Regions from separate parts of the Homo sapiens genome. Here all the other regions are linked to region 3. Evidence: promoter capture Hi-C in 16 types of primary human blood cells and fetal thymus (Javierre and others, 2016). All regions are on one chromosome and are shown on one strand. Each heading gives the region's core, a stretch centred on a gene start or on the middle of the fragment in contact. The rest is flanking DNA. Distances are from core to core; before and after follow the strand shown. Region 1 overlaps MTMR9 (myotubularin related protein 9). Region 2 overlaps FDFT1 (farnesyl-diphosphate farnesyltransferase 1). Region 3 holds the start of BLK-AS1 (BLK antisense RNA 1).

Region 1 (3,371 bases), core at 594-3,093, 260 kb before region 3:
ATCTCTGTTCACGTGTAAGTGGATCTATTTCTGGACTCTTTTTTTCTGTTCAGTTGATCTGTTATCATCATGTCATTTTCACACTGTCTTAATTACTGTAGCTTTATAGTAAGCCTTGAAATTGTGTAGTGTTAGCCATACCACTTTGTTCTTATTCAAAGTTGTTTTGGCTATTTGAAGACATTTGCATTTCCATATGAATTTTAGAATCACCTTTTCAGTTTCTACATTAAAGTCTGCTGTGATTTTGTTTGGAATTATGTTGTATCACTGGATGAATTTGGGGAATAATTGACAATAAAAAGAAAATTCTGGGTACATTTACACAATCGTCATCTGCAAATAAAGGTAGTTTTACTTCTTTTTTAATCCTTTTTTATTCTTTTTACCTTACTGCACTAGTTATAACCTTGAGTGCAATGTTGACTAGAAGTGGTGACAGTGAACATCTTTGTGTTATTCATGATTTTAGAGAGAAATAATTCAATCCTTCACCGTTAAGTGTGCTATTAGATTTAGGGGTTTTTTTGTGGGGTTTTTTGTAAATGCCCTTATCAGGTTGAGGAAGTTCCCTTCTGTTTCAAATTTGCTGAGAAATTTTTGGTTTTTCATGTTTTTAAATCAGAAATGGATGTTAGATTTTGTCAAATACTTTCACTTTTTTTTTTTTTTTTTTGAGACAGAGTCTCAACTCTGTCACCTAGGCTGGAGTGCAGTGGCTCAGACTCGGCTCACTGCAACCTCTGCCTCCCGGGTTCAAGCGATTCTCTTGCCTGAGCCTCCTGAGTAGCTGCATGCCACCACGCCCAGCTAATTTTTTGTATTTTTAGCAGAGACAGAATTTCACTGTGTTAGCCAGGATGGTCTTGATCTCCTGACCTCGTGATCCACCCGCCTTGGCTTCCTGAAGTGCTGGGATTACAGACGTGAGCCACGGCACCCGGCCCTTTTGCTTTTTATAAATTGATACATAATATGTATCACTTGGAAGTAAGGGAAATCTGAAGTGAACTGTTTTCCTATGCTCCAGAAATATCTCTCTACAAACACTTAACACATTAGTTACAGATCTTTTTCCTATTCTTTGAAATAAGGCCCCAAATAATCTCCATCAGAACAGTTAGCTTAATGTGAATTACTTTATATATTTGAAATTTAAAAAAGACATATATTGTAAGTAATGTATGGCTCACATTTTAATGATGCAGCCTTGCTTCTTCCTTAATTAGACTGAGGAGAAGAAAGTTAATATAGATGGTAACTACAACTATATTCTCTTTTCAAAGAAATAATAATATATTTAAAGTTAGTAATATATGTGTTCCTAAACATGATTTGCAATTTCTTACAGATTTGTAGGATCACTGGGTACCATCATCATAAAATGTAAAGATTTTCGAATTATTCAGTTGGATATTCCTGGAATGGAGGAATGCTTGAATATAGCCAGTTCCATTGAGGTAAGTATTTTGGAAGCAAAATCTAATGAAACATAATTTTATATTATGACTCAGTGTAGCTCTTCCATTTCTTCATTAGATAATTTAGTCATGTTCTCTGACTCAAATACTGAAGACTGATAGGAAAAGCCTCACCCTGGTTCATCGTCATATGAGTGTAATGGAACTTTCTTGACTTCCAGCAGTGTCTGGTGTTACTCACGTTATATGAGTAGCTCAATTCCATGAGTTGCTTGGAATTCCATTTCCAATGGCTTTGTGGAATTTCCATGAGTTCATATTGGTTAAATAACAGATACTGTTTCACTTGAGTGTATGAGTTCTTATTTGGGGAAACCATTAGAAGATTTAGTAAAGAGGTTCTTGGGAGAAATTTTAAAGTTTTGCTTGATATTTTATGTTCACTATACAAAGCTCTGTGCCAAAGACTGTAAACTTCTTTTTCTTTCCTTTACTTGAGGTTTGTTCAAGTAAAATCTTATATGGAATTGTAAACCAATAAAATAGATACAGTTAGAATTGCTTTTAGTCACATTACAGTGAGTAGGTAGGGACTGGGGGGACCTAGAAGCCCTCATTGACTTGACTATTCCCATCTGCCCTCTACAGAGTTCCTTAGAGACACTGCAAACCACTAGTGAGTTAACCAGTGCACTGTTCACTTCTCTACCAGGTTAGCAGCTAGAAGTGGAATTGTTTCTTCTTGAATATACTAGTATATCTTTTGTAATAAATACAGTTCTAAAAATTTGAATAGAAATATTAATAAATTAGAATATTATTGTACCATATTATTACATATATATATACACATTATTACATGTATTAGTACATTATTGAACGATAGCACAGTTTGATTCTTGATTTTACCACATGCTAGCTTGTGACCATTGGTAAAGTACTTAACATCTCTCTGATTTGTTTTCTACGTTTTATAAAACAAGGATAATAGTACCTATCTTTTAGGGCTGTTGTAAGAATTTTATTAGTTGATGTGTGTAGAATGGTTAGTATAATACTTGGTAAATAGCAGCTACCATTTGAGGGTCCTCTGTCATTACTTACTATAATTTTATGGTGATGCTTTTTTAAAAAAATTGTGGTTAGAAAACACTTAACCGTTTTTAAGTGTACAGTTTAGTAGGGTATAAAACTTTATTCACATTGTTGTGCAGCAGATCTCCAGGACTTTTTCATCTTGCAAGATCGAAACTCTGTGTTAAACAACACCCCATTTTCCCCTCTCTCCAGCTCCTGAGAACCCCCATTCTACTTTCTGTTTCTCTGAATTTGACTACTTTAGGTATCTCATATAAGTAGAATCATAGTACATAGTATTTGTCTTTTTGTGACTGGTTTTTTTCACTTAGCATAATATCCTCACAGTTCATCTGTGTTGTAAATTCTGACTTTTTAAGGCTGAGTAATATTCCATTGTTATGGATGCATGTGGTGAGACTTTTAAAAAGTTATTTCTTTTCTAAAGCAAGTAACTGTCACCAGTGATTATAGTTTTTTGTTTGTTTTTAGTAATCTGAATTTTCACGTATCAATTAGCTTAAGACAGGGTGTGTTTGCTTTTTATTTATATAAATAATATTGAATATTGGTTCAGATTACAAATAATAGAAATTTTACTTGGTTAGTTTAAATGGAAGAGCTCATACTGTTTTCTTTCCATTCTAACCAACTATTTTGATGTACACTGAAATTTTAAATTGCCTTATTTTAAACTATTGCCACTAAATTATATCAGTTAATCTTAGGTTTATAGTACTTTCTAGACTACTATAGGAACGTTGATTTTTTCTTTCCGTGTATGTGTAACTAATCTGGACTTTGTGTCCAAAAAATGCTATCAGCTTAGCTATTAAAAATGGGTAGAAAGTCTTAAAAATCTAGAAGTAGGAT
Region 2 (3,254 bases), core at 171-2,670, 260 kb after region 3:
GTCTCTAAGGACTTGCTTTATGAATCTGGGTGCTCCTGTATTGGGTACATATATGTTTAAGATAGTTAGCTCTTCTTGTTGAATTGATCCCTTTACCATTATGTAGTGGCCTTCTTTGTCTCTTTTGATCTTAGTTGGTTTAAAGTCTGTTTTATTAGAGACTAGGATTGCATTCCCTGCTTTTTTTTTTCGCTTGGTAGATCTTCCTCCAGCTGTTTATTTTGAGCCTATGTGCATCTCTGCACGTGAGACGGGTCTCCTGAATACAGCACAGTGACGGGCCTTGACTGTTTATCCAATTTGCCAGTCTGCGTCTTTTAACTGGGGCATTTAGCCCACTTATATTTAAGGTTAATATTGTTATGTTTGAATTTGATCTGTCATTATGATGTTTGCTGGTTATTTTGCCCATTAATTGATGCAGTTTCTTCCTAGCCTCGATGGTCTTTACAATTTGGCATGTTTTTGCAGTGGCTGGTACCAGTTGTTCCTTTCCATTTTTACTGCTTCCTTCAGGAGCTCTTTTAGGGCAGGCCTGGTGGTGACAAAATCTCTGAGCATTTGCTTGTCTGTAAAGGATTTTATTTCTCCTTCACTTGTGAAACTTAGTTTGGCTGGTTATGAGATTCTGGGTTGAAAATTCTTTAAGAATGCTGAATATTGGCCCCCACTCTCTTCTGGCTAGTAGGGTTTCTGCTGAGAGATCTGCTGTTAGTCTGATGGGCTTCCCTTTGTGGGTAACCCGACCTTTCTCTCTGGCAGCCCTTAACATTTTTTCCTTCATTTCAACGTTGGTGAATCTGACAATTACGTATCTTGGGATTGCGCTTCTCGAGGAATATCTTTGTGGTGTTCTCTGTATTTCCTGAATTTGAATGTTGACCTGCCTTGCTAGGTTGGGGAAGTTCTCCTGGATAATATACTGAAGAGTGTTTTGTAACTTGGTTCCATTCTGTCTATCACTTTCAGGTACAACAATCATAGCATTGGTCTTTTCACATAGTCGCATATTTATTGAAGCCTTTGTTCATTTCTTTTCATTCTTTTTTCTCTAATCTTGTCTTCTTGCTTTATTTCATTAATTTGATCTTCGATCACTGATATCCTTTCTTCTGCTTGATCGAATCGGCTATTGAAGCTTGTTTATGCTTTGTGAAATTCTTGTACTTTGGTTTTCAGCTCCATCAGGTCATTTAAGCTCTTCTCTACACTGGTTATTCTAGTTAGCCATTTGTCCAACCTTTTCTCAAGGTTTTAAGTTTCCTTGCGATCGGTCAGAACGTGCTGCTTTAGCTTGGAGAAGTTTGTTATTACCAACCTTCTGAAGCCTACTTCTGTCAACTCGTTAAACTCATTGTCCATCCAGTTTTGTTCCTTTGCTGGTGAGGAGTTACGTTCCTTTGGAGGAGAAGAGGCGTTCTGTTTTTGGAATTTTCAGCCTTTCTGCTGTGGTTTCTCCCCATCTTTGTGGTTTTATCTACCTTTGGTCTTTGATTTTGGTGACGTACAGATGGGTTTTGGTGTGGGTGTCCTTTTTGTTGATATTGATCCTATTCCTTTGTTTGTTAGTTTTCCTTCTAACAGAGGCCCGTCAGCTGCAGGTCTGTTGGAGTTGCTGGAGGTCCACTCTAGACCCTGTTTACCTGGGTATCACCAGTGGAGGCTGCAGAACAGCAAATATCGCGGCCTGATCCTTCCTCTGGAAGCTTCGTCCAAGAAGGACACCCACCTATATGAGGTGTCTGTCGGCCCCTACTGGGAGGTGTCTCCTCCCAGTCAGGCTACATGGGGCTCAGGGACCCACTTGAGGAGGCAGTCTGTCCGTTACTGGAGTTCAAATGCCGAGCTGGGAGAACCACTGCTCTCTTCAGAGCTGTCAGGCAGGGATGTTTAAATCTGCAGAAGCCGTCTGCTGCCTTTTGTTTAGATATGCCCTGCCCCCAGAGATGCAATCTAGAGAGGCAGTAGGCCTTGCTGAGCTGCGGTGGGCTCCACCCAGTTCAAGCTTCCTTGCTGCTTTGTTTACACTGTGAGCATAGAAGTGCGTACTGAAGCCTCAGCAATGGCGGGGAGGCGCTTCCCCTCACCAAGCTCCAGCATCCCAGCTTGATCTCAGACTGCTTGGCTAGCAGCAAGCAAGGTTCCATGGGCATGGGACCCCCCGAGCCAGGCACTGGAGGCAATCACCTGCTCTGCCAGTTGCGAAGACTGGGAAAAGCACAGTATTTGGGCAGAGTATACTGTTCCTCCAGGTACAGTCACTCACGCCTTTCCTTGGCTAGGAAAGGGAAATCCCCTGACCCCTTGCACTTCCTGGATGAGGTGACGTCCTGCCCTGCTTTGGCTCACCCTCCATGGGCTGCACCCACTGTCCAACCAGTGCCAGTGAGATGAACCAGGTACCTCAGTTGGAAATGCAGAAATCACCCATCTTCTGCATCGATCTTGCTGGGAGCTGTAGACCAGAGCTGTTCCTACTGGGACATCTTGGAAGCAACTCTGGGTCTGAGTTTCTGTTTGTTGCCCTGATGTATATCCCCAGTGCCTAGAATGATACTTGTTACATAGGAAGTGCTTGATCCATGTTTGCACAAATGAATCTTTCTCATAATGAGGTTTCTCTAAACAAGCTGTTCTCCCAAAAACTTAAACCCAGCTTTATGTTGAAGCATCTCATTATACATTGGAAAGATGAAATGTGTAGTGAGACTTTGAATCTTCTTTTGAATCTAGAAACATTAGCATTTTTAGACCATTCTATTTTAATATTTATGAAATTTATGAAATAATAAGAAACATGAGGCCGGGCTCAGTGGCTTATGCCTGTAATCCCAGCAGTTTGGGAGGCCAGGGCTAGTGGATCATGAGGTCAGGAATTTGAGACCAGCTTGGCCAACATGGTGAAACCCCACTTCTACTAAAAATATAAAAATTAGCTGGGCGTGGTGGTGCATGCCTGTAATGCCAGCTCCTGGAGAGGCTGAGGCAGGAGAATCATTTGAACCTGGGAGGCGGAGTTTGCAGTGAGCTGAGATCGTGCCATTGCACTCCAGCCTGGGCAACATTGCGAGACTCCATCTCAAAAACAAAAACAAAAACAAAAAAAATGTGTGACCTAAATTAGGCTTATAGATGAACCATTGCAGTCATGATTAATTCCGCCATTGTTTGCCTTGTGATCTTTGGTGCCATGTCTGTACATATTTCATGATTTCTGTGTTTTTACGGTTTCCATTTCAGATCTCCCTTGAGTT
Region 3 (3,431 bases), core at 625-3,124:
GACAGAAGGACACAGGCCCAGGGTGTGGGGCAAATAGGTGAAATGCCCCCCAGGCAGGGTACATTCCTCCACTGCCTGAGGCCCCATATAGAAGGGACCTGGAACGCAAGGTAGGCACCACACAACCATGGCCTCCGGAACTGCATGTTCCAGCTCTGGCACCTGGAATGGGGTGGCACCTGGGCACTTACCCCGATTTTGGTTAAGGGATCACCTCCGAGCAAGCTCTCTGTCTTCTGATTGGCTTCTTCACTCCCCCGGGCTCAGGTTACTACAAAAACAACATGAAGGTGGCCATTAAGACGCTGAAGGAGGGAACCATGTCTCCAGAAGCCTTTCTGGGTGAGGCCAACGTGATGAAGGCTCTGCAGCACGAGCGGCTGGTCCGACTCTACGCAGTGGTCACCAAGGAGCCCATCTACATTGTCACCGAGTACATGGCCAGAGGTGGTGCCCCCCGCAGAGCCGCATCCTCAGAGCGAGGCGGGAGGGCCGGGCTTAGCAGGAGGAGGAGGGTCCGCTGCGGTGGGTTCACCAGGCCAGGGGGTCCTGCAGATCTAGGGCATGGCACGGTGTGGGGACAGGGAGGGATGGAGGGAGGGGGAGGGACAGAGGGAGGGTGAGAAACAGGAGGGTGAAGTGGTTCTGACAGAGCCATGTTCTCAGCCCAGGAGCAGTTCAGACAGCATTTCTGGAGTGCATCTTCTGTGCCTAGCACTCTTTGATGCCTGCTGGGAGGGACAGAGCATTGCAAAGTCAGACGAACACCAGGCCAGGCATGCAGGGACAGTACTAGATCCAGGTCTCCTGCCTCCTGGTCATGCAACCATTTACAACTGTGTGAATATTTTACAAGGATGGCCAGAGAGGTTGGGCTTGATGGCCTCTGAGGTCCACGGCGTGGCCAAGTTCTCATGCCACTTTCTCACCCTCCTATGACCCTGACCGCACACTGCTCCTATAGGATCCTAACATGCCCATGTTGATATAGCTCCCTAACAACTGTCACCAAGGGGCCCCCGGTCGGAGGCTGTGCTGGGGGTGCCTCTAGCCTGCCCCTAGGGCAAGCATCCATCCCTCCCAGCTTTCTGATTCCAGGGGGAGCTGCATTTGTCCCCTGCACCAAACCTGGGGGACAGTTCTCTCCATTCTGGTGCTTTCTTGCTGATGCCTGGTCCTCAGAGGCAGAGGGTGTCTGCCAGCAGGGATCAAGGGAGCGAGGCCAACACGGGGGGAAAGACAAGAAGGGGCATGAAACTTCGAGTCAGAACTGGGGTCCCACTCCCAGCTCCCGGCTGGGTGACTTCAGACAGGTCCCTGCACCTGGCTGAAACCTAACTTCTGGGCAACTGCTGGTATATTGGCTGCCTCCCGGGGTGCTGAGACTGGCATTTTGTAAAGTGGAAGGCACTCGGCAGCAGTAGGTAGATCCTTCCTGATGCACCGAGAGATCTGAGGGTGCAAACTCCCACTTCCCGCGCCCATGGGGAGCCACTCACACCAGAGAGAGGCTGGCACCACCAGGGGCGGGTCACTTTGCAGAAGGGCACTTGCAACTTCTCTTTTCTTAGGATGCCTGCTGGATTTCCTGAAGACAGATGAAGGGAGCAGATTGTCACTCCCAAGGCTGATTGACATGTCGGCGCAGGTTGGTGAAGTACCAGGTGCAGAGAAAGGGCGGCATGTGCCACCTGCTGCCCACAATGGCTGCTCGTGCCTTACCACCCCATCCTCTCAGCCAGCAGGAGAAGTCAGGGGGTACTGAAGGCCACCTTCCTCTAGGCAGATATCCCCAAGGTCACCCACTGCACTTGGACTTGCAAACCCTGGCCACTGTGCCTCCTGCCCCACGCAGCTGTGAGGGAGCCCAGGGAATGGAGCCTTAGACCCGGGCTGCTGTGTTGGAATGAGGCTATTCTGTTCCGAAGGAAGAGAGGGCGAATGAATGTCATGGGAAACACACAGAGTTAGCAAGAGTTCCATTGAACCCGGCAGGCAAGTGTGTTCTGTTGTGACCTCATCTCTTCCTTAGATGGTGCCCACAAACATCTCCTGTAGGACTTCCCATCCCAGGGGCCCTCAGCCTTTGCACAGCCCTGGCGTCGACCCCAGGCTGATGGGCAGGCCTGAGCTACACACAGATGCCAGGGACATGACTTCTCTGAGCCCTGGAGGACAGCCCCACCTTCTGCCACCAGGGAATTGCGAGTGCTGGACCTCCTTGGCTACCCAGGACTGGTCCTCAGTGTCCCTCACGTTCACATGCAGAACTTTCTGGACTCCATGGGGTGAAGAGCAGAGTGGAGAGGAGGGTTTTAGCCGAGAGCTCTAGCTGGCAGGAAGCACATCTGGTGGCCCTGTTAAAACTGGAACTCTCAGCAGAAAAGTTTTGGTCTGTGGTCAGCCTGTGAGGCACACACGTGCGTACACATACACACACACATACAGCTGCCACCGAGAGGAAACGCTCCCACCCACCGCCCACATCAGCCCTCCCACCTCGCCCCTCGCCCAGCCTTACCCAGTAGCGCCGCTGCAGGAACTGATGCCACAACGCCTTTTTCCGCTGAGGTGGGCAGACAGCCATCTGGGCAGGCTGGTTTTGGAAAATGAGTGCTGGTAACCGGCTTCAAACCCCAGGGCAGTGATAAGCCTGCCCACTGCTGCTGCTTCCTTTCCCCTTCCTTCTCTCACCCTCCGCTGTCTCCTATTCAATCCCCACTACACCCCCTTGGGAAATCTCGTGTGACCCAGGGGCAAAGGATGTGAAAAGCCATCGGAGTTTAATACCTGGATGTAGCCACAGAATCGGGGGTGAGGAGCCAGAAAATCAGAACTTCCCAGAAGGGCAGCCTCTAACCACATGCTGACCATGCCAATGGCTCTCTAAGCACACATGTACACACACACACTCTCACACACATAAAAACACAGACTCACACACACACGGACAAACACAAACACATACACAGACTCACACAGACACGCAAACTCACACACAGACAGACACACACACAGACACACAGACTCACACACACAAACTCACACAGACACACAAATACACAGACTCAGACTCAAACACAAACTCACACAAACACATTTACACAAACTCACAAACTCACACACACAAACACACACACAAACACGCAAACTTACACACACATGAGCAGACACACACCCGGCCCTTCTGGGCTCTTCTTTTCTTACTCCATAGGAAGCCATGCAAAGTCTCGCCAGACCTTTCTTCCAAGGCCAGATCTGGCCAACCCCACAGGAACCCTGCAATCACAATCCCTCGGGCCCCACTTTGCAGCCAGATGCCACCGGTTCCCATGCCCCATGCCTCGCCACCCCTCTACCTCCTCTGCCCAGGAAGCCTTGAACACTTCCCACCTGGCAGAATCCTTATCATCATCCATGGCTCAAGCGTA

The links. Contacts are between HindIII fragments. The CHiCAGO score rates a contact against its expected background, and 5 or more counts as called.
Region 1: a fragment that was not itself captured here is called in contact with the fragment with the promoter of BLK-AS1 in region 3 in 2 of 17 cell types (fetal thymus and total B cells); the score reaches 5.4 in fetal thymus.
Region 2: a fragment that was not itself captured here is called in contact with the fragment with the promoter of BLK-AS1 in region 3 in 1 of 17 cell types (total B cells); the score reaches 5.8 in total B cells.

The regions. Positions count from the first base shown.
Region 1 is chr8:11,293,843-11,297,213 of GRCh38, forward strand. MTMR9 (myotubularin related protein 9) reads left to right here. Exons shown (of 10, transcript NM_015458.4): 2 at 1,352-1,460. Among named protein-coding and RNA genes, the nearest start is that of MTMR9, 11 kb to the left of the region's middle. The HindIII fragment of the contact is 4,846 bases long and covers 1-3,371 here.
Region 2 is chr8:11,818,510-11,821,763 of GRCh38, forward strand. FDFT1 (farnesyl-diphosphate farnesyltransferase 1) reads left to right here. Exons shown (of 8, transcript NM_004462.5): 4 at 3,241-3,254. Among named protein-coding and RNA genes, the nearest start is that of FDFT1, 17 kb to the left of the region's middle. RefSeq lists enhancers at 2,068-2,117, 2,128-2,177. The HindIII fragment of the contact is 568 bases long and covers 1,137-1,704 here.
Region 3 is chr8:11,556,391-11,559,821 of GRCh38, forward strand. BLK-AS1 (BLK antisense RNA 1) reads right to left here and starts at 1,875. Exons shown (of 5, transcript XR_948956.3): 1 at 1,500-1,875; 2 at 1-271. BLK (BLK proto-oncogene, Src family tyrosine kinase) reads left to right here. Exons shown (of 13, transcript NM_001715.3): 9 at 268-447; 10 at 1,572-1,648. RefSeq lists an enhancer at 2,045-2,334. The HindIII fragment of the contact is 8,296 bases long and covers 1-3,431 here.